6 separate regions of the Homo sapiens genome follow, and all the other regions are linked to region 2. Evidence: promoter capture Hi-C in 16 types of primary human blood cells and fetal thymus (Javierre and others, 2016). All regions are on one chromosome and are shown on one strand. The core of a region is centred on a gene start or on the middle of the fragment in contact, and the rest is flanking DNA. Distances in the headings are between cores, read along the strand shown.

Evidence for each region. Contacts are between HindIII fragments. The CHiCAGO score rates a contact against its expected background, and 5 or more counts as called.
Region 1: a fragment that was not itself captured here is called in contact with the fragment with the promoter of OVCH2 in region 2 in 4 of 17 cell types (M2 macrophages, total B cells, total CD4 T cells and 1 more); the score reaches 6.8 in M2 macrophages.
Region 3: a contact is called between a fragment that was not itself captured here and the fragment with the promoter of OVCH2 in region 2, in 4 of 17 cell types (naive B cells, endothelial precursors, M2 macrophages and 1 more). The highest score is 6.5, in naive B cells.
Region 4: a contact is called between a fragment that was not itself captured here and the fragment with the promoter of OVCH2 in region 2, in 1 of 17 cell types (M2 macrophages). The highest score is 6.4, in M2 macrophages.
Region 5: a fragment that was not itself captured here is called in contact with the fragment with the promoter of OVCH2 in region 2 in 3 of 17 cell types (M2 macrophages, naive B cells and M1 macrophages); the score reaches 5.6 in M2 macrophages.
Region 6: a fragment that was not itself captured here is called in contact with the fragment with the promoter of OVCH2 in region 2 in 13 of 17 cell types (M2 macrophages, naive B cells, total B cells and 10 more); the score reaches 11.6 in M2 macrophages.

What each region holds. Positions count from the first base shown.
Region 1 is chr11:7,046,504-7,050,555 of GRCh38, reverse strand. NLRP14 (NLR family pyrin domain containing 14) reads right to left here. Exons shown (of 12, transcript NM_176822.4): 5 at 3,724-3,888; 6 at 718-885. Among named protein-coding and RNA genes, the nearest start is that of NLRP14, 28 kb to the right of the region's middle. The HindIII fragment of the contact is 3,423 bases long and covers 715-4,052 here.
Region 2 is chr11:7,705,093-7,709,066 of GRCh38, reverse strand. OVCH2 (ovochymase 2) reads left to right here and starts at 2,590. Exons shown (of 16, transcript NM_198185.7): 1 at 2,590-2,760. The coding sequence starts at 2,673. LOC105376533 (a long non-coding RNA gene) reads right to left here. Exons shown (of 11, transcript XR_007062576.1): 7 at 3,412-3,472; 8 at 2,789-2,842. The HindIII fragment of the contact is 6,680 bases long and covers 1-3,363 here.
Region 3 is chr11:7,062,094-7,065,754 of GRCh38, reverse strand. It overlaps NLRP14 (NLR family pyrin domain containing 14), which reads right to left. Exons shown (of 12, transcript NM_176822.4): 10 at 3,252-3,422. Among named protein-coding and RNA genes, the nearest start is that of RBMXL2, 25 kb to the left of the region's middle. The HindIII fragment of the contact is 572 bases long and covers 1,010-1,581 here.
Region 4 is chr11:7,011,262-7,014,971 of GRCh38, reverse strand. The region is part of intron 1 of ZNF214 (zinc finger protein 214); the gene reads left to right. Among named protein-coding and RNA genes, the nearest start is that of ZNF214, 7.2 kb to the left of the region's middle. The HindIII fragment of the contact is 2,307 bases long and covers 1,098-3,404 here.
Region 5 is chr11:7,029,846-7,033,600 of GRCh38, reverse strand. All of the region lies in intron 1 of NLRP14 (NLR family pyrin domain containing 14), which reads right to left. Among named protein-coding and RNA genes, the nearest start is that of NLRP14, 11 kb to the right of the region's middle. The HindIII fragment of the contact is 2,742 bases long and covers 1,006-3,747 here.
Region 6 is chr11:7,117,834-7,121,853 of GRCh38, reverse strand. No RefSeq gene overlaps it. Among named protein-coding and RNA genes, the nearest start is that of RBMXL2, 31 kb to the right of the region's middle. The HindIII fragment of the contact is 1,133 bases long and covers 1,924-3,056 here.

The DNA.
Region 1 (4,052 bases), core at 1,177-3,676, 660 kb after region 2:
TATAAAAACTTCTAATGCAAAACTTACTGTAACTATTTGTTTTGTCTGGTTTTGTCAGAAACCTATTTCATTGACTTTCATTGAAAAATAAGATCTTTCTTAAAACCTGTCACACAATGTGGAGAACAGTATGACTGCTAATCCTTTCACTTTCATCGGCCAAAGAAGAGTCACCACTCAGATCAATAGTGTGTGGTAGCCAGCAAGCACCTTGAAAGAGGACCATTTCCATGCTCTTCTTTCTCAGCCTTCTGGGCTGGTCACTGAGTTGAAGTTCTAAATTGAGGGGGAGTCACCAACAAAAATCAAATAATAGTGAGTCTGCCCCAGCACTGCCCCCAGTTACATTAAAGAACATCCCCCACTGTATTATTTTCTACGAGAGTTCAAAGATACAACGAATCTATTGCAGCACTTAAATATTAGAAGTGTTAAATATTTATAATTCTGAATCTGCTCTTATTCCCACCACCAGCAGATTTAGGAGATGGAGACACAGAGAACTACACAATGAGAAATCTTCCTGGGGAGATGGGAGGAATGAGAAGTCCTACCAGGATGAAATCAGCTTGATTCTACAGATGCTTGCTACCCCATATCATGAAAGTAGATTTAAGCCGGTCCTATGAATAGCAAATCCAGGCTGTAAGAGTCTACTTGGATAGACAAAAGCCTCAATTATAAAAACAAAACAAGACAAAACAATTCAAAGCTTACCTGAGAGTCTGTAGTTTACACTCTGGGTGTTTCAAGGCCTCACACAATGACTTTACTCCATTATCCCCTATATCACTCCCTTTTAGGTCAAGATGCATCAGATTCTTGTTATGAATCAAAGAAGTAGAGATATCCTGACAACCATCAGGGAAAGTGATAAATTTCAACCTTCAGAAGAAAAATATGCAGGAGGTATTACAAAACCATTTCTCTCCTTGGTTACAGGATCCCTTTCTTTTCAATCTAATTCTTGGATATTACATGAATATTCTTTTATCTTATTTTCATCTAAAACAATTGGGTTATAACTTCAATTTCTATTTATGACCTGATAATTGACACTCCCCAGTTTTTTTTACCTTAACGGAAAAGAAGGTGATAACATCATGAAAAGCAGAAGAGGAGCCTCTTTAACTTGTAATCCCAGGAATGACTATCAAAAATTATCAGGGCCATTCCAAGTACTACAATAACATTAATTCACAATAGCCAAATCTTTAAATAATCCAAGGTTAATTCAAAATTAGCATCAACTGTCTGATGTGCAGTAATAACAAAACGCTGTTGCAAAACATGCTGTGCCATCTTGGGGACTTCGTTAGGCATACGGAGGCAGGTGTACGGAGGCAGCCCAAGCAAAATATTATGAAGTTAAATCTGCCAATTTTTTTCCTACTTTCTACCTCCTAACTCAGTCAATGTCAGATATTTCTGATTCTTCTATAGTGTCTCTGCTAGTCCCCAATGCCCTTCTGTTCACTGTCCAAAACCTCGCTTTGTAACACCACCTTTCCTCCTTTCGGCCCACCACCCACCCTCCACCCTCACTCCCCTCACCCCAGGCAAGTACACACAGGAAAATAAAGCCTTTACCCATTTATAGCACTAACCATCCTCATCTAGTAAAAGTGCCTAAGGCACTCAGTAAACATAAATGGCACCATCTCACTTATTAGGAAAAAGGGACCACAGTAAGACAGACCACATTAAGGTGGCACAGACTGAGAACAGTCATCATGGTGTCATCCCACTGATGCAACCCTCCCATTCTAAGAAAGGAAGTCAGTTAACCAAGAAGGCATTGGCTATTGTGAAGATCCGGATTGATGACATCCAATGAAGGGACAATATGGGGGAAATGTTTAGGGATGAGTGGAAAGGACTTCCAGGAACCCCGTAATCATAACATACATCTAGTTGTCTTACTACATCTATATGTAAGACCAAGCCTACTCTAGATGCTTGAAATCTAAGGTCAGAACTCACTAAAAACACTGAGATCAGGAGGAAAATATTTGGTGAGAAGCCTGTCCCCAGCCCCCACCCAAAAGAACATCTATTTTCAGTGCTAATGGAAACAAAGATCTATCATTTGTTCAGCATTCAGTTCATACTAAGCAACAAATGTACCTTGTACATATTGACAGGCACAAAATACAGAGATTAGGATCAGTTTCAGCTCCTAGTGGAGTCCTTACACAAAAAGGTAAGAGACATGTGAACAATCAACATTTTAAAGTGATTATCTAGAATCCAATTAAGATAAATTAAAATTTAAAAAAGACTGACAGCATCTAATGTTGGCAAAGATTACCCTTATTCCTAACAGGTTAGGGAAACCTCCAGGGGTCTATTAACAAGAGAATGAATAAACAAATTATAGTATAAGTATAGTTATACAATGGAATACTAATCAGCAATAAAAAAGAAACTACTAAAAGTTGCAACAAAATGGATAAATTTTAGAAGACATTTTGTTGAGCACAAGAAGATGGATATAGCCAGGTGTGGTGGCTCATGCCTGTAATCCCAGCACTTTGGGAGGCCAAGATGGGTAGATCACTTGAGGTCAGGAGTTTGAGACCAGCTTGGCCAACATGGTGAAACCCTGTCTCTACTAAAAATACAAAAATTAGCCAGGTGTGGTGCTGCGTGCCTGTAGTCCCACCTACTCGGGAGGCTGAGGCAGGAGAATGGCTTGAACCTGGGAGGCGGAGGTTGCAGTGAGCCGAGATTGTGCCACTACACTCCAGCCTGGTGACAGAGCAAGACTGTCTCAAAAAAAAAAAAGAAAAGAAAAGAAAGAGAAAGAAGATAAATTAAAAAAAATACATACTGTATAAATCAATCAAAATGATTCCAAAAAGATACAAAGCTGAACTCTGGTGACAGAGATTAGAAAATGATTGTCTCTGGGAATGGATGGGGTGAGAAGATTGAACAGAAAGGGATAGGCTGGACATTGTGGCTCATGCCTGTAATCCCAGCACTTTACGAGGCTGAGGCAGGAGGATCTCCTCAGCCCAGAAGTTTCAGACCAGCCTGGGCAACACAGTGAGACCACATCTCTACAAAAAATTAAAAAAAAATAGCCTGGCATGGTGGTACATGCCTGTAATCCCAGCTACTTGGGAGGCTGAGGTGGCAGGATTGCTTGAGCCCAGGAGTTCTAGCTGCGATAGCATCACTGCATTCCAGCCTGGACAACAGAGTAAGACCCTGTCTCAGGAAAAAAAAAAACGAAAGGGGTACAAGGGACCTTTCTGAGATAAATGAAAATATTTTCTATCTTGTTTTGGGTGTGTTGGTTATAAAGATGTTTACACTTGTCAGAACACAACAAACTGAACATTATTTGTGGACTTTGTTAAATGCAAATTTTTCCTCAATAGAAAAAAATTTAAGAGGATAGTAAGTTCCAGAACATGTCCTTGAAAGTGCATTGGTGACCTGCCTAGAATGTTTTAGCTCTGTGCTCTTCATTTAGAAAGTTCCTAATCAAGCCTGAAAAACCCATGTGAACAGCTACTATGCCCTGTGGAATCACTCTGAGAACCAGTTAGTAATGATCCCATGTCCCCAGAGGATTCCATTGTTCCTGTTTATTTTACAAAATGGATTGTAAGTATTTGTTTAGCATTGGCTTCCCCTAACGAGTATGAGTGGAAGATGGGACACAGAAAGAAATTAGAATAACTCCATTAAATTTTCTCATACCAGACTTACAGTAGCTTTTGTAGTTTACAGTTTGGGTGCCTTAGTTCATGATGCAGGATATTCATTGCTGATTTATCAAGGTTGCTATGGTACAGGTCCAATTCTCTCAAGTGTTCATTTGTATGAAGCACAGAACAGAGATCTTGCCAACAGTGAGTAATGCGATCACCATCCCTTTGCATAAATAATTGAGAAAAGAAAAACAATGCTGATTTTATTTCAGCCTAGCCAACTCTCAGAGGATAGTATTGGAGTAAAAGTAAGTGTACTTTGGAAAGGCAAGAGCATCCAGTGCAGCTCCACCGTGGGCACAGTCCACCAGGAAGTCTTCCTCTGGG
Region 2 (3,974 bases), core at 1,341-3,840:
AGACAGGTCCAGAAACCCAACTCCTGGGACTCTCTACCAGACAGTACATTCTGTTACTTTCTCTGGGCCACTGGAGGTGGCTGAGAACATTCCTGGTGATGAGTGTTTATGGCACTGTTGACCAAAATTGAGGCTGTCAAGACAGAAAAAAATCTATAAAGGTTTATTGAACCTCAAATGTGTGGATTGACCCAGGAAGACACAGCAACAAAGTTGGAGTGTTCTGAGGTCTGTCAGAAGGTGAAAGGTTTTGACAGAAAAATCTGAAAAGACAGAGAGAGATTGCTCATACTGGAGTTGTTCTCTTTTCATTGGAGGGTACAATACAGAAGTTATAATCATTAGCTATGGATTATATCACAGGGTTATAGGAACACATTAAAGTCACAGCTCTGCAATCAGCAAAATACAGAATGTAGAAAATGCTAAAGGTCTAAATAACCAATTCTTTCAACAAAAATAATTGCTGCAAAAAAGAGAGAAGAAGGTTATAACAGGTAGACCTGAGATTTTCTAGGTATAGAATCATATCATCTGTGAAGAGAGACAGTTTTGCTTTCAGGAGAAATTTTGATACTAATTTCTCAACTTGGGGATTTACAGACAGGGAAAACAATGTATTTGAATTCCAAATCCATGTTTGGTGCAGACTTTGGTCCAAGATTCTCAAGAGAGATTTTTTCCCCTTTAAAAGGTTTAATAGTTTCATGAATGAAAAATTGATTTTATACTACCATGCCAAGCAACACTTTAATATATTCCTGTCTGCAAGTAACTACAATGTACAGTTATTATAATTCCTATCCAGACCCTGGGAGGGTTGAATAGCTGGACTTACAAAAATATAGTGTCTTAGAACCTGCTACATCCCCCATGAAGAGCAAATATTTTAACAGCAAGGGGGCCACATTTTAGCCCCTTAAGAGATGAAAGTAACAAACTCTTAATGACCAGCTTCATGTGGTGAAGAGTGTGTTGATGTGTACTGATAGTTGTGCTGATGCAAGAGCTTGAAGCAAATACCCTCTCCTGAAATTAAGCACTAAGCAAGAGCTCATCATATTTCTGTGTGACAATCAATAAAAACGCTCCACTCCCACATTTTACAAAGGAAAACTCATCATTCTTTCAGTATAGAGTCAAATTTTATTGTCCTATGCTATGTGCCTACTTTAGGCTTGTCAAGTTTAGTGCATCCTAGGCCCACACTAGGTCTTTCTGCACTTTTGACATTAACAGTATACACATTTTAGACAGAATGTAGTGAATTTGGGGTCAGAAAGGCCATATTCCTAGTCAAGTTGCTCTCAAAAGTGATTGATAAAACACAATAGCAATTTAAAGGGAGCTTGCTGTCAAAGAAAGATTGAGACTTTGATTAGGGCTTAGACATTGATTGATTACCTCTTGGGGCTATCACTCCATACCAATAGCCAAAAATGTTTGGCATCAGGATTACAGTAGTTATAGATAAAGCCTCAATAGAGGTTTGAGTTTCCTTCTTTCCATAAGGCTACATTCTTGATTAGTGTACCTAAATATGTAGTGCTTACAAATGTTAAGTTTTTACACCTTCTCTGTTTTGCATTTATATTATTTGTATGTGTTGTATTTTCATACTTTTTTGTACAAAGACAAAAGTTGCCAAAAGGAAATTAAGAGCTTTTGGGCTGACATTTGTTATTTTTAGTGGGTAACTTATAAAAGTTGACAGAAAAATGTTATATTTCTATCTGGTCATAGATGGCATTGACCATCCTATAAATATTTCTCACACACTGACCATGTGCCCAAAACTCGTTGAGGAAAGAGGAAAATGTACAGGTAATCATAGCCACTTTACTCTCCCAAGCATCTACCAGGCATAGAAGTAAAGGAGATTTAGTGTTTCCCTTCTATAAATACAAAAATGATAGGAGAATGCAGAGTCACAAATGCCCCAATGTACAGTATCCTAGATGACTTTCTAACAGCAGGGCTTCCTGAGTGTGACACCCAAATATCTTTCCACTTCTCTCATTCACCAACATATGTTTATAATAACCATGTAGTTACATTTGCAAAATAAGATAAATAAAAATATTTTAGAATATTGGCTGGGCGTGGTGGCTCACACTTGTAATCCCAGACCTTTGGGAGGGCAAGGCAGGCAGATCCCTTGAGCCCAGGAGTTTGAGATCAGCCTGGGCAACATGATGAAACTCCATCTCTGCCCAAAAAAATTATATACATTTGGATGGGTCGTTTGCAAAAAAGTAGGGAAGTGTACCCTTGCAAACAAGGACAACATTGATAGTCAATCTTCTTATAGAAAGTGGTAAAAGTGGTAAGCTCTACAAAGGAGCAAGTAATGTTTGCAGATGCAAATCTTACATGCTAACCACTTTGCTAGCCAGATACACTCTGGAGGAATCAACTAATTGGTGTAGGTGTAATAGGATATGTAATATTGCTTGATCAAGACTCTGCTTCTGTGGTTGTTTCTCCACATCTTCCAAAAGATCTTTGCGAAACACTACATTCAGAAACATCAGATGGACATGCTTGATTCACCACGTCTTGGTTAATGAATAAACTTGTTTTAAATTGGCTTATTGCTGGTCTCTCAAGGCTTCCTATTTTTGTTTGCTTTAGTCTCTCTAAAATTTCAGGGAAAAACTATGAGTCTCAAAATGCTTATAAGCAGGAACAAGCTGATTTTACTACTAGGAATAGTCTTTTTTGAACGAGGTAAATCTGCAACTCTTTCGCTCCCCAAAGGTAAGTTTCAAATGAACTCTATAATTACCTTTGTCTGAACCTTTGCTGGCAATGGACGTCACAACTCCGAGACTCCATGTTCCTTTGGGAAAATAGGAGAAGCAAATATATTTTGGATATCTAATTGTTTTTAAACAATTATTTTGGACTTATCTCCTGCAATCGGCATAGGACACAGGGTGAAACATTTATAGAATGCAACTAATGTATCCAATTAAGTAAACAATCCCTGTTTTCTTCGCTTAGTTTTCCTAAGTGAACTGAGATTGTTCACTTACTTGAACCCATTACATAATCCCATCTTGGTTCATAGAGCAAATTCTGGAAATCAGCATGGATTTGGAAGCATTTTTAATCTTTTACAAAATCATCTTGCTGAGAAATATGAAGCATGTTCACTGTAGTATATTATAAATGGTCTTTTTTCCCCTTCAACTAACTTAAGCTGAAAACAGTTCTTGGAAGATTTCTCCTTGGTCAGACTTGTGCCAACCCTGAGAATCAACATGTTTTCTGACTTTGCTTTACTGAATTTGGGAAATAGTAAATTTTGTATTTAAAGTATTTATGACTCATTCAACTGAAACAGTTAGAAAATAAGCTTTTGTTCCAATGTCATCCTGGCACTGGGTTCAGGATCAAAACACTTACTGTTACATTCATGCTCTGCCATTATCCAGCTGTGTGTCTCCTTGATTCTCAGTTTTCTCATCTGCAATGTGGGGATAACAGTGCTTCATTTATAGGCATAGAGTGGGATTAAATGAGAAGCTGTATGAAAGAGCTTTGAATATTTTAACATGTTGATCTAAATAGCTATACTCTTAAGGATGTGTTCTCAAGAAAAGTCATTTGTTTGTCCATCCAGTGTTTCTAAGTGCTTACTTATGCCAAGAATTAAGCTAAACCTTAGAAATGCAGAGGTGAATAAGGCAAGTTTTTTCCCTTGAGTAGTTCATAGTCCGATGATAGAGGCAAATAATTCATTATCACAATTCTGCATGACAAGAACTATAAAAGGGGTGAAGAAAGCGTGCTACACAACACAAGGGAGAGGCAATCCCACTTTGAGGAAATCAAGGAAGACTTCCTGGTTGAGGTGATCTCCAAGCTGAGGAATAAGAATTACAGAATTTAGGTAGGCAATGAAGCATGGTGATTATGAAGCAAGGCTAGTTCTAATCCTCCTTCAAAATATGGAAAAGGATGACCTC
Region 3 (3,661 bases), core at 46-2,545, 640 kb after region 2:
CTGCACATGTATCCCAGAACTTAAAGTATAATTAAAAAAAAGAAAAAGAATACTCCTAGAAAACTAGGTGTAGAAGGCAATTTCCTTAAATTGATAAATTGGTGAACCACTGAAGTTGTGCTTCAAACATTGTGAACAACATATGAAAGTTCATTATCCCCAGACATATTAACATTATATCACATATATTAACAGTTACTAAGGCATATAAAAAATGAAAAAAGAATATAAGAACAGAAAAGGAAAAAACAACTACATTGTATTATTCCCAAATGATGTGATTGTATACCTAAAAAATACAAAAGTATCTACAAATTAGCAACTAGAATAAGCAAGAGAATGTGGCAGGCTATTGGATAAGAAACCAACTTTAAAAACTCCTATGTTTCTATGTATAAACACAATGAAAAAATAACTAAAACAATCATTTACAACAGCATGAAATATAGTAAGCACTTTGGAATAAAGTTAACCAGTAACAAAATACAAGACCACTCAAGAAAAAATTACTAAGCTTTATTGATAGACCTAAATAAATGAGATATGTCTTTTTGGTGTATCAGGAGACTCACTGATAGATTTAATGCAATTCGATTCAATACGCCAACATATAGGTAGGTTGGGGGGCAGTACATATGTATGTAACTTGATAAGTTGATATTTCCAATTTATTTGCAAATGTAAAGGGGAAGGAGAGCCAAAATTCTCTTTAAGAAGATGGGAAGAATTGCTGTAGTGCGTATCAGGGCTTATCATAGAGCTATATTAATTAAGACAGCATTGTTAGAACTGGGAATTACAAACAGGTCAGTGGAAAGGAAAACAGAACCCAGGAACAGATCCACGCACCAATGAAAATGTGGTTTATAACAAAGATGTCCCTACCAAGCAGAGGGGATAAAAATTTCAATACTTTTTGCTGGAAAAAAAAAGAGTATATAGGAAAATTATAAAATTGAACTTTACAGCTACATATATTTTTAAAAGGTAGATTAGAGGCTCCAAAGCTTCCTAATTTGCCTTTGATATTCAGATAATATAGAATTGGTATATAATGTATAAGATATAATGGGTTTCTGTAAATATTGTAAAGATGCTTTTCTCTCTCTCCCATTTGTATGATTCCTCCAGACCAAAGGTCTCCATGCAAGTAAAGGATAATTGGAGAATAGGTGAAGTTCTAGCCACTGGGATGGCACAAACTGATTTCATTGGTGTAGGGGAAGAGCAGCAACAATATTTGGAATGGAACACTTTAGAACCTGGAGGTGTGGAGAGTGAGGAGAACAATTCACTCTCTCTTTTTTCTCCTAGATCCAACACCTTGGCCTGGCAAAATAATTATGTGGTCTGTGGAGTCTAAGCAGCAACTGCAGCTGACAGACTGACCCTCGGCCTGGTTTGTCATGCCTGTCTATATACTATGAAAATAGAAAATCTCATGTAGACATAGCAGGTCCTGAACTACTTTGCTGTGCCTGATGCCATCAATAGCAACCTCCTAATGTGGAATCTTATCATATGTATACAAACACAATCACTAGCACAACCTTGTTTCAATTCGATACAAATCTGCAAGCTTCTCTTGATGCTAGAACAGCCTTGGACTATACCACGTATGAGAATGAGGAAGCTACAACTACCAGTGAGACTGCTTACCTGGCTTAACCAAACTAGTGCAATGGCTAACCAAATAAAATATAACAGCAAATCCAAAATTAGAGTGACCTCTACCCCTTTCAGTTACATGTTTGCATGTGGGGAAGAGTGGACTGCTAACTGTCTCTTTACTGGGGAGGAGGGCTGCTTTTGGCCCATCTTTGTTTATTTATTGCCAGTGACACCAAAGAATGGCAGCTCATTTTAGACTCCCTTGTATGGGTTCTAAAGCATAAAAGACCTAGTAGTCCTTCCTGGGACTTACTCAGTTGACTGAGTCAGACCCCTGTGGGAATGTTTGAAATCAATACTACAAGTTGGGCTCATCACATGCTTGGAGTTTTGTTATTAGTGGCCTTAATTAAATGGTAGATGAGATTAACTGAACAGATTTGGTCCCAGTCTCTGTTAATCAGAGTGGCCAATGGAGTAGCATATTTATGTGAAAATTCACCAGAAGCCAAGATTTTACTGTGTAGAAACAAGGGGTAGATATTTTGGGGAGATATTCTTCCATAGGTCTTTCTCTCTGCTACATGTTTGCTAACAAAAATGCAAGGCCCTGACAGCGCTTTACCTGGGCCATTTTCCAGGATTGTGTTTGTAATGAGCAACCTTGAGGGACAAACAGCAGGCTTATTACTGCCTCCTGTAAAATCCTAGGTCTCTCAGTCTCAATGTTGCATGTGCAGGCATCCATCTGGACCCTCTTCATCAGCCCTGTGAGACTCGGGGGACAAAAGGAACTGACGCAAACATGCTAATACTCATGCTCTTGCTCTGCTACAAGCAATAAAGTCCTTTGTCTCTCCTAAGAGTCTTGTGGGTTTGGTTTTGTTTTTTGTCCAGCATCCATGAAACAGTAACCGGTGAATTTATTAGGTTGTAAGTAGGATAAAATTAAATCTCAGACCTAACAGTTACATCATCATCATTGCTATTATAAAAATATATAGTCAATGGAAATATAACAGCTTCATTTTCTTGGAAGAGTCAGGGGAGATTTCTCTGGAAGACTGTTAAATTTCTAAAGGATGACACATGTCATTATGTCTGAGCTTCCCACACATAGAGCACAATTCTTGACCCTGAGGTCAATAATTCATGTTGTATAAGTGAAAATGTACTAGCCAATATCAGTTCAAAATTAAATAAAAATCTAAACACAGAATTGAACGTAAGAAATGTCCACAACACAGAATGTGATTTTATTACAAGCTCCTTAAGAACATAGTATTTTACAGATAGAAGATAATTAGTAAAAGTCTTCAATTTAATAAAAAAATTAATTCAAAGACAAGTAGACTATCTGAAGGATGACAGAACATGAAGACCCAAACCAGGTACCATTTGCGTACTAAGTATCTGTCCAAGGTACTAAAGGGGACACAAAGAAATGTGAAATATGGCTTCTATACTAAAGAACATGCAGTACATTGATCCATTTATTTGAAATTTAGATTCTTATTTCTGAGAGTAACTTACCTTCTAGCCCCATTTAGTTTTTATCCTCTCTCCATACACTAAATATCTTCTAGCTATACTAGCTACCAAATAGGCATCATTTTCCTAATGGAAAACTATGAACTCACCCGAGCCTCTGAATGTTACAGTTTGGATATCTCAAAGCATCACACAGAATTTTCACTCCATCATCCTGCAAATCGTTGTTCCCAAGGTCCAGGCTCCTCAGGTTTGGGTTATTCAAAATAACAGAAGCCAGATCCAGACAACATGCATTAGTGAGAACACAGCCCATCAATCTGTAAGAATTACAATAGGAAAAGTGAATCCTTCCATTGTGAGGTTAAATAAGTTTCTTCCTAGGAGATATACCCAGGTATTTGAACCTCTTTTCTCACTCTTTTCTATCTACAATCCAGGACATACATGGGAGGGTCTAATTTATCAGTAAAAATGATGGGATTTCTTAATGAGCAGAATAAACCAGCAGGTAAAACTGTTTTCTTCCACAAACAGGTTATCTACAGAGCTTTAAAAA
Region 4 (3,710 bases), core at 1,002-3,501, 690 kb after region 2:
TTTAAAATATAATAACACGGACACTCACCATTGAACTCGGCATACACTGTTTTTTCTTTTTAAGACAGACTGCTTTCTCTCCCAGCCTGGAGTCCAGTAGCGTGATCTCAGCACACTGCAACCTCCACCTCCTGGGTAGTGTTTTTTTTTTGTTTTTTTTTTTTTTTGTTAGAGACAGGGTTTCGCCATGTTGGCCAGGCTGGTCTCGAACTCCTGGCCTCAAGTGACCTGCCTGCCTCAGCCTCCCAAAGTGCTGGGATTATAGGTGTGAGCCACCATGCCCAGCCTAAATCAGCATATACTTGTAAAAGCCCTCTGATGACTCCAGAATTTCTTTCCCACCCCTCTCCTAAAGGGGCAGCCACTATCTTAAATGTTGTTATTCCTTAATTGTTTTTTCCTGCGCTTTTAACTACAGGTACATTTCTAAACACAATTGTTTAGTTTTGCATATTTTTGAACATTGTAAAATTGAATCACTATATATTCTTCCATGAATGGCTTCTTTTGCATAATGCTAAATTTTACAGTGCATCGATGTTGATTCATGTAGCTGTTCATTTTCACAGCTGTGTACTATTTCATAGTATGAACAACTTATCTGTTTTGTTGTTGGACTTTTTGGATTGCTTTAGTTTTTTGCTGTTACAGCATTTATTATGCTCTAACTGTTCTTGTACAGATCTTTTGGTATACATGTGTAATGTCTAGTTTATAATTCTAGTAACAGAATTTCTGGGATCATGAATTCCCTTATCATTGCCAGTAGTTTTCAGCTGATTTTCTTGGATCTCTCAGATATGCAGTCATATCCTCTACAGATAATTTTGTCTAATTGCATTATGCTGTAGTTTCACAGTAGTTTAAAAGTTGTGGACTTGCAGTATCCTTGTCAAGTTTCCAGTTTTAATGAGAATGACTTTAATGCTTTATCTTTGGGTTTAAGATATGTTTGTATGTCTTCTGCTTTGTTTTGTTTTGCATGCTTTGTCTGTAGTTTTAAATGAAGGATGCATGTTGAATTTTAATAAGTATACTTTTTGGCATCCATTACAATAATCATATGGCTTTTCTTATTTGATGTTATTATAAAAGCTTAAAGTTAATAGCTTTCCTAATTTGAACCTTCCTTTTCTTTCTGGAATAAACTACCACTTTACCATGATATAATATGCTTTGGTATTATAACAGATTGAATTTTCCAAAGATGGCCTTACTTATTGTTGGGGTGATCAGACCCAACACCAGGTCGTGGGGGTGACAAAGTCCGGCGGAGTCAAAGGATTGAGAAAAAGACAGTGAGAGAGAAAAGGAGGTGGGAACACCAGGGGGCCATCGCTATTGTACGGAGGCTGCGAAGGCCCCAAGCTCTGGGAGCCCACGCTATTTATTGGTAATCCAACAGAGAAACAGGTGGTGAGAATGTGGAGGTCAAAAGGACACGTTGCATTAAGCACATGATTTACAGCTGCGATAGTTTAGCATTTATATGGAACATGTTCTGCTACTTTAGATAGTGGGAATAGGAGCCTAGGAGGGCTAGAAGCAAGGAGCCAGCAAGTCTAGACACATTCCAAAGGACATTATGCAAACCCTGCCTCAGTTTCCTTCACAACACTCAGCTTTTTCCCAACACTTACAATTTATGCTGTTTTCATGCTCTTCTTATGATGTGACTGACATTGTTTCCACTGAAAGGTGGGGTCTGTGTCCCACCCCTCTCAAATACAGCCATGGCTTGTGATTGCCTCATCAGTGGAGTACAGTAGAAGTGATAGGATGTGACCTCCAAGGCTAAGTCATAAAAACAATGCAGCTTTTGCTTGACTTTCTTTTGGGCAACTTGCACCATGCTGACAGATAGCCCCCGCCACTTGAAAGGACCACGTGGAGAAAAAACAGATCTCTCATCAACATTTAGACCAGCCTGCCAGCCATGGGAGTTAGCCACCCTGGAATTGAATCCTTCTTCTCAGTCAAGCCTTTTGATGACTGCAGATGTAACCAACAACTTATCTTGTGAGATCCAAACCAGAGCTGCCTAGCTAAGCCACTCCTGAATTTGTGACCCAGAAAAAAAAATAAGAAATAGTAAATAATTATTGTTGTTTTAAGCTACTAAATGTTGAAGTAATTAGTGATATGGTAGTAGATTATGAATTCAAGTGCTGCTGGATTTTACTGGCCTTATGTTTCACTTTATTTCTGACGTCTTGAAGAGTTTTTCGTTTCTGATGCCTTGAACAGTTTTTGATGCCTTGGGATAATTTCATAGCATCAAATAATCTGTTCTTTGAAAATTTGAAAGAATTTGAGAAAACTTTTGTTCCAGTTATTTTTAAAGGTTGTAGTTGCTATTTCCCTAATCTTATTTTTATTTTTTTCTATTTGTGCTCCTTTTCCCCCCTTTGATTAACTAGCTTGTGATTTATCTACTTTGTTATTAATATTTTTCCTCTCAAAGGACTGGCTCTTGGATTCATTTAACAGTGGTAAATGTTTTCAAATTCCATCTTTTTTTTCATTAATTCCATCTTTTTTCATTAATTTTATAGTTTTCCCCTTAACATTTAAGTACTTACTTGATCTATATACTTAACCATTGTATATGGTATTAAGTTGGAATCCAGTTTTATTTTATCTCATATAGTTAATCAGTTTTCATAATGCTATCTGGTAAATAATCCTTACCTCTGTCTTTGATTTTTAATGCCACCTCTATTGTTAATATGTTTTTGTAGATAAAGAAGCACATTGGTTAGTCTCTGAGCCCTCTGCTCTGTTCTACTGGTCTATTTGTCTCTTCTGATTTTACTACTGTAGTTTTGGTGATATGTCAGTATCTGGTAGTCTTCCTGTTTGGTTTACTTGTCTTTACCAACTTATTTCCTTCCTTGTCAATTTTAAGGAACAGAAGTCTATTGCGTTCCTCAGAATAGCCATCTGAATATTTGACTGGAATGTATTGAATTTAAGTTACTGCATCCAAGAGCGTGGAAGCATGCTTCTCCTTTTATTTAGATAATCTTTCTTCTTTATTGGAATGTGAAAGTTTTCTTCAAATAATTATTTGTATTCTTGGTTAAGATAGGGTTTTTTTTCTGGTGTGAATGGTATCTTACTTTCTAGTAGTTGATTGCTGAGTCATTAAACTATTTATTGTATCTGATAGTTTTGCTGAACTCTCTTAATTTATAGTTTATTGTATACTCTTTTTCTAGGTAGATGGCCATAACTATGCAAATAATGACATTTTATATTTTTGCTTCTAATTCTTGTAGCTCTTAGTTCTTTTTCTTATAGTATTTGCCAGAATCTCTAGTGCTGTGTTGAAAGCAGCAGTGACGGTGGTCATTCTTGTTACCATTGTAAAGGGAATATATGTGAAGTTTCTCCATTAAGCTTAAAGTTCTTGATATTTAACCTTTGCCACTTTAGGGAGTTTATTTTTTTCCTCTAGTTTGCTACAAGTGTTTTTAAGAGAATACATCGGTGTTGAACTTCCTGAACTTTATAGCACTTGATTTTTCTGCATCAGTTGAGATTATCATGGATTTATTCTATAGTCTATTAATATAGTGAATTGTGTTAATAGATTTTTCTCATGTTGAACGATCCTTGCATTCCTATAATAAACTGTCTGATCATGATGCATATATTTGATATATTACTGAATTTAATTAGCTAATATTTTATTTAGGATTTTTGTA
Region 5 (3,755 bases), core at 1,127-3,626, 680 kb after region 2:
TGTTTGTATTAACTACTAAAATTGAAGATGTCCACCCAGGACAATACTGTACTGTAATAATAAATGTAAATGTAATATTCAGGAATAGAAAAATGTAATATTCAGGAATAGAAAAAGAACACTATGGAAAAACTAGTGAACTTCAAATTAAGTGCAACTTAATTGCCTTATTGTCTTCATTGTGACAAATATACCATAGTAATGCAAGATATTAAAAATTGGGGAAATTGGGTGACAAGAAATTTCTGTAATTCTAAAAAATACTATTCTAAAATGGTTATTCCTTAAAACTGGAAATATACATACACTATGACAGAGCAATTAAAGTTCTTAGAAAATATCCAATAGAAATATGTGTGTAGGTATACCAGGAGATATACAATAACTACAGCAGCACTGCTTGTAATTCCTAAGCACTTGAAAAGATCCAAGAGTTCATCTATAGTAGAACCAATCAATACATTGTGGTAAATTCGTACAATGAAATCCTAAACAGCAAAGAAAACATATGATTGAAGCTATATGCCACTAGAATAAATCTCATAACTAGTGGAAGAAGCCAAATCAAACAAGATTATGAAGTAGCTATTATAAAAGTCCATTTCCTAATACCTCTGTGGAGATGAGGTGGAGGGGGATGAAGGGGGCCTTATGTCCTGGTAACGAATGTCCTATTCCTTGACCTGCTGATGTTTTACATGAGTGAACACTTGGTAATCATTTACCAAGCTGCATGTTTATGCTCAGTGCAGTCTTTTATGAGTTACAGTTCACACTAAAATATTGTCTTGAAAATGTTCATATCCCTAAAATGACATGATACAAATAGATCAGAATAGCAATAAAGCAAATTTATTGTGAATAGCCTATTCATAGAAGGGGAAAAAAAGCAAAAAGCAAATGGCTAACAAGTATTTCAGAAAATTTTCAAACTTAGGCAGATAGCACAACTAATGCAAACCAGGAAACAGCCCTTCTCAAAGAACAAAATGACAAAAATAAGCTTTAAAAAGCAGTACCATATAAAAGGAGTTAATATAAATGTTAATTGCTACACTCTTGAAAAACTGCATGTCTGCATGTCTACTGAGAATTTTACAAACATGCATGAGTTTTCAAACAGTATCTTCTTTGGGAAATCATCCACTGAAAAAAAAATCCTAAATACAGAAAAGAAAGTTTTGTGCATAAGGGTGTTTGTTTAGAATAGTAAATAATTGTCAATAAGGATTCAATTATAATGAATGTATAAAAATATAGCACACACTTGATTTTTAGTCATGAAAATGACCTCGTCATACAGCAAAACAGTTGGCAGGTATATGAAGATTACAACTAAGCAAAGAAAACAAAACCTCTACATAAAAAAAACCAAAATGTACTTAAAATAATTACCACAAATTGTCCTAACTCAAAACACAACTGAGTTTAGGACAATTTTTGACAATTATCTCTCATTAGAATACATTCCTTAAATAAGTGGAGAAATAAAAAGGTAAAAAGGCAATATCCATTTGCCAAATTCCAAAAAGTTAAAGAAATGAATGCCTGCCATCTGTACTTGAATTTGGCGTGTTGGCAATAATTGCTAACTTGCATAGAGAGAGCAATTTTGGGTCACTGCTGGAGTAGAGGGAGTGGGGGTGCTAAAGCACTAAAGCACTATAGGCTAGAGAGGATGACCAACGCCGGGAGCAAGCATGTGCTACCTTACTAATATTTCTTGAACTTTGCTAGGGAGAAGTGGAGAGACAGATACTGATAACCTGGAGCACCAGTGAGAGCAGCTGTTGCACCTGCAAAGCAGTTTTCAGGCGGTTTGTTTCGTTTTCAGTAGGGAGAGGGGCTAGGGGAAGACTCAGAGTGAATGAAAGACGGCAGAACACAGGTGGCGGGAATAGCTTCAGACTGAAGGACGAACACCTGCTCCTGGTTAGAGAGGCGAGGGGCTTGCCTCCATTCGTCAAGGCTGGTGAAAGTGGGGCTATTCATACCGCTTTAATCCAGGAGATTCAAGAAGCGGGCACTGCACGCAGTGCCTGCCAAATTCAAGCACAGTTGGCAGGCATTCATTTATCTCTTTGGAATTTGACAAATGGATACAGGCCACACTAGGTCTCCAGCCGAAGACTACTTGCAGGTGACCGTGGACTCGCACCCTCAAGGTCGCTTTTCCACCCTGGTCATGGCCGGCGCCATGCCCAGAAGTGTCCCACCCTGGGGTGTCCTGGCAGCTCATCCTCTTGGGCCCTGAGTCCACATCCCTTTCATTTTCCACACAGAATGTGGACGCTGGATGGACTCGCACAGAACCCAACTTCCCATTTTAGAGTGGACAAAGTACGCATCCAGAGAAGAGGAGAGTCATTCCATACCTCGGTCTCACCAGGCGTCGGTGGCAAAGGGTATAAGCGCCAAAAGCCAGGCCTCAGAAGGACAGGAAAGGATCAACAGGCATTTGCTGTTCCACCAGAAAGGGGAACGCACTCTGGCCCTTAATGCCTCACCTTCCTCCTCCCCTGAGAGAAGAGCAAACCCGCTAAGAGGGCTGCGGGCCAGCGTGGGTGGTTGGACCCCACCGCCTGACCTAGCGAATCTCTCTTCCCATTGGCTGGAGGGGCCAAGGGAGCTCTGCTCCCACTCTCCGCCTCTATGCTTGCTCTTCCACTCATTTACCGCAGAAGATTCAGTGTTCAATATAGGATCCCCTGCGCTCAGCAAACCTGTGGGCGCACGTCCTTCCTCCTTGCTTTCCCGATGTGGGAAAGAGGAAGTCGGGGAATTGAACCCCAGCTTTGAAGGACCTTTCCCAGACTGGCTGACTCCCAATAAGCAGTGTCCCTTTATTCGTCCATCTAAAATCCGTACGATTATTGAGCATCTTATTTGTGCCTGTCAGTTTTCTGGACCCTGTCTAGCAGTGAATAAAATATCCAAAGTCTTGCTCATCTAGCCCTTACCTCCATGGAGCTTACATTCTGTTGAAGGGGCACAAATAATGAATTGTAGTATACCAGGTGGTAATCATTGCTATGGAGAAAATCAGAGTGGGGCAAGGAATACAGCGCTGGGGGTGAAAAGTGGGGGTGGGTCCTATTTCTCTTTGAATAGCAAGAGAAGCCACTGCTAAGGCGATATTTGCAGAATGTGAAAGTGTGAACAATGCAGATATCTGGGAGATGGAGCATTCCAGGAGGAAGAAATAGCAAGTGCAGAGACCCTCAGTTAAGAGCCTACTCGATATATTTAAGGAACAGCTGAGTCAAATCGACCACAGTAGTCACCAAGGCTGTGTGTTGATTTATGGATAGTGCAATTTCATTCAAATCCTACATGACTAGAACTGCTCTAAGATGAATTCATGGCCTTGGCCCCTGAAGACAGTCTTAGAAGCTAATAGATCCAGTAGCTTCAGGATTGAGAATTGCCTCTCAGATGAGAAACCTCTGGATCACATGGGTAAATGGATGCTCTGTTCTGATGGCTTCCTTTTTCTAAGGATTACCCATTTGGAACAAGTTTTCATATTCATATAGCAGCCAGATTTGGGTGATTTATCCTTATTTAAGACAGCATTTCTTCAGCTGGACTCTTCATGGAGAACTTTAAGCGTTATTGGCAAAGGAGGAGCCAGTATTCGTTGGCATTAAGAAAATGTACACTCTAGGCAACTGATACTAAGGACTCAGGCATGCTAGTTAGCAAGATGGGCCCAACAACCTCAATAACAACCAGAAATCAGAAGCTTAGATTAT
Region 6 (4,020 bases), core at 1,241-3,740, 590 kb after region 2:
CCATTCTCTCTCCCCACTCCACCCTGCCTTTATCCACACACACACATTTTCCCCCCAAACCAGTTGAAAATAAGTGGAAGCCATGATAATCCATTATGCCTATATCTCTAAGAAAAGGACACTCTCCTATATAAGTACAAAATTGAGAAAATGAACATTGAGACCATAAAATTCACAAATTCCATTCAAATTTCACAAATAGTCCCAATATTGTACATTATAGCAAAGGAAAGTACAAGAATATTCTGGTTCAAGTTCTGCCTGAGATAAAATGCTACCGTTGTCACTTTTCATTTTCTTCCGTCTGAAACAGTTTCTGTCTTTTCTCGTTCATGATGTTGACATTTTTGAATAGTACAAGCTAGCTATTTTGTAGAATTCCCCTCAACTTGAGTTTAATAATGCTGCTTCAATATTAGATTCAGGTTATGCATTTATGGCAGGAACATCACAGAAATGATGCTATGTTCTTCTCAGCAGATCATAACAAGAAGACAATGTTGATTTGTATCATTCTAAATGATGTTAATTTTTATCACTAGATAAAGGTGGTGCTTGCCAAATTTCTTCACTATAAATTTGTAGTCTTCCCTTTACAATTAAGTATTTTGTGGAGAGATCCTTTGATATTACATTAATATCTTATTCCTCATCAAACTTTTACCCACTAGTTTTATACTCTATTGATGATTCATGCCTAAATAATTACTATGATGTTTGCTAATAATGACTTCCTAACTTTCTATCATTCCTTCTACATTTACTAGTTGATTCTGTACTGTAAGAAAGAGCTTTTGCTTCTCCCATATTTCTTTAATCATTTATCTCACTATGGACTCACTGATCCTTATTTTAATCAATAGGTTATAATTCATTACTATCTTTATTTATTTTGATGCTGAAACTCTCCCAGTGGTCCTTCTGGCTGCTTACTGTGTCATTTTGATAAGTCCACATTGTTTTTAATCATTCTCTTGTTTTATGACAAATCAAGATATTTTGGGCTCATCTTGTACTTTCCTTGCCCCAGCCCTGGAATTAAACATTTCTCTAAAAAGTCTTTGTTTCTCTTATTGGAGAAACATACATATATAAGTCCAGATCTGGACACTATGTGTGTTCTTTGCTGCTGGGGCTCCATTGCTTTTAGGCTGTCTCAGCAGAAAAAGCTAGAAAATATAGAAAATGTACACACACACACATGTATCTATCTACACATGCACATACAGGGCTATGTCCTTTTCCTTTCTTTCACTCTCTCTCTCGTGTGTGTGTGTGTTTGTGTGTGTGTATAATATAAATATATATCTCTCTCAAGAGTTCATCATACTGGTATCTCCAATTCTGATGGAACACCATTCTGTTCTAATTTTCACCCTTTAAATTATTGAATATCCTTTCTCTTACAGTGAGAAACTTGGCTCCCGTTACTTTTGGCCATTTCCTTTATTTATAAACAATGCCTTTTTAGCTCCAGCCCCACAGGATCCATTAGCCAATGCTGTCTCCTAGGCCCTAAATGCCTCCTCCACCCAGGCCTTGCAGTCTCGCAGGAATAGACATTTTTGCAATTAAGCATCAGAAGAGTAAGAACAATAATGTAAACAGACCAGGGCCTTAGAACTGCCGTGTTGGTGGAACATGTGAGTGATAATCCAAGGCTGCATAAGGTTCAGTGTACATACAAAAGATGGAGGGGGTGGTTAGGAAAGACTTTATGTATAAGCTAATCACTGTTCAGCCCTTAAAATTATATCTGGCAAAGAGAAGAGACAGAGAAGGTACAGGTAGAGTGCACAGCACGAACAAAGATATGGAGGTATGAAACAGATTTTTCTATTCAGAAAATTTTAAGCAGAAGACAAAACCTGCAGAGAGAACTGCAATGAGAGATAAAGCTGTACAATATGCAGGATACAAGCTTTATACATTATTTACAAAAATGTTTAAAAGTTATTCAATAGTTAATGGGGAGCTATTGTCTAGTTTTAACATGAGAGATATTTTAGTTCTAAATGTGAGTTTTTAAAATGCCACTTTGTCTGAAGCATTGAGATTAAAATTGAAATGGGGCTACACTGAAGGTGGCAAATAGTTAAAAGACTGCTGTGATATATCAGGGAAGGGATCTAGAAGGCACTGAACCAAGGCAATAGCCATGTGAATGGAAATAAGAAGGTGGATGCAGAAGTGTTAAGGAGATAGAATCAATATGTTTTAATGATAATTAGAGATGGAGAACGTGGAAAAACTTGAAACATACAGGGACATCTATGATCCCTGCATAGGAGACTGAGATCATGGTAGTAACATTCACTGGTAGAGTATAGAGAGGGTGTTTTAGAAAGAAGATGATGAATTCAGCTTGTGACTTCTTGAGTCTCTCTCTTAGCCAGCTCAGGCTGCTATAACAAATTACCATCGACTAGGTGGCTTGAAGAATAAACATTCATTTCTCACAGTTCTGGAGACTGGAAGTCTAAGATCAGAGTGCCAGTATAGTTGGGTTCTGGTGAAGGCCCTGTTCCAGGTTTACAAATGCCCATCTTCTAATTATATCCTCAAATAGCAGAAATAGGTATCACCTCCCTTGTGTATCTTCTAATGAGGGTACTAATCCCACTCTTGAGGGCCTCACCCTCATGACCTAATTACCTCCCAAAGACCCTCCCCCAGTACCACTGCACTGGGGGTTGGGATTTTTCAATGTATGAATTTCGGAAGGACACAGACATTCAGTCCATAACCATGTGAGTTGCCTGTTGTATATCCAGTAAGATATATGAACTGAGCAGTAGGTCTGACGCTCCCAATTGAACAAGACTGAAGATAAAACTCTGAAAGTCACTAGTGTATTAGTGGTAGTGGAAACTGCAATAATCGATTATACAACCTAGAGAATTTTGTTCTGTGAAAAGAGAAGAGACAGCCGAGAACAGATCCTGAAAACAAAAACATCCAAGGGATGCCTAGAAGACTTGAAGACTTGCAAAACAGCCTATGAGAAAATGATTGAAGAATGAGAGGAAGAAGCAAGAATGTTCAGAAGCCAAGCTTATGGGAGTGACTTCTTGCTTTAAGTCACTTTTGAATAGCTCCCCACAATACAGCTTTCTCAATTAAAAATAGCCAAACAAACAAAAGGGAAGAAAAATGTACATTCAGTGACAAAAGCCTAAAATTAAAACCAATTCCTAATAACATCAGAATCTTTTAGGAATCTCCCACTCCATTCCTTAACACTCTCATGCTTTGTCTCATACCATTGAGGCTCTGAAAGCATGAGTGGAAACTAATATATAATTCATAATCAGCTAAACTACCCACAAACTACTCCATGACCACCTTCCTCCTGGCACATTTTTGTGTATATATATATATATATATATATATGTCTTCATCTCATCCATCAAGCTGCTCCCTCCACCACCCATCTGCAAGGTTTTCTCATCATCCATGTGTGTACCTTTGATGCACCCTCCTCAAAGTTTAATGTGCACTGAAATCAAGTGGGGATCTTGTTAAATGCATTTTAATTATAGGTGGAGTCTGAGATCCTGCATTTCTAACAAGCTCCAGCTGATACATCACTGCTGATCTGAGGACCACACTTCGAGTAGAAAGGATTTTTCTCACATCTCCACCTGTTTATAACATACATTCTTATATATGGTCTCTCAATCTCTGCCCTTTTATTTCCCCATTGATGCCTCTTTCAACGTTACTATGCCCTCTACTCCTTTCTGCTGATCCACTATGCATCTGTAGCTTTTATTCTGGCATTCAATAATGTTGTTATCTTCCTCACTTCATTCTTATCCTGTGCCTTAACTCGACACAATTCCTACTGCTCTTTCCGTTGGACTTTACTTTGCATTAGGAAAGCAAGCTGATTAAATGAAGCCACACTAGTGTGTTAGTTCCTAATAGCCATTTTATGCCTTTCTGGGTGTTTGTTCAATGAACCTCTCAGGAAAGTAGGCTGATGCAGGGAGATTTTCCTTAAATCATACCAAGTGG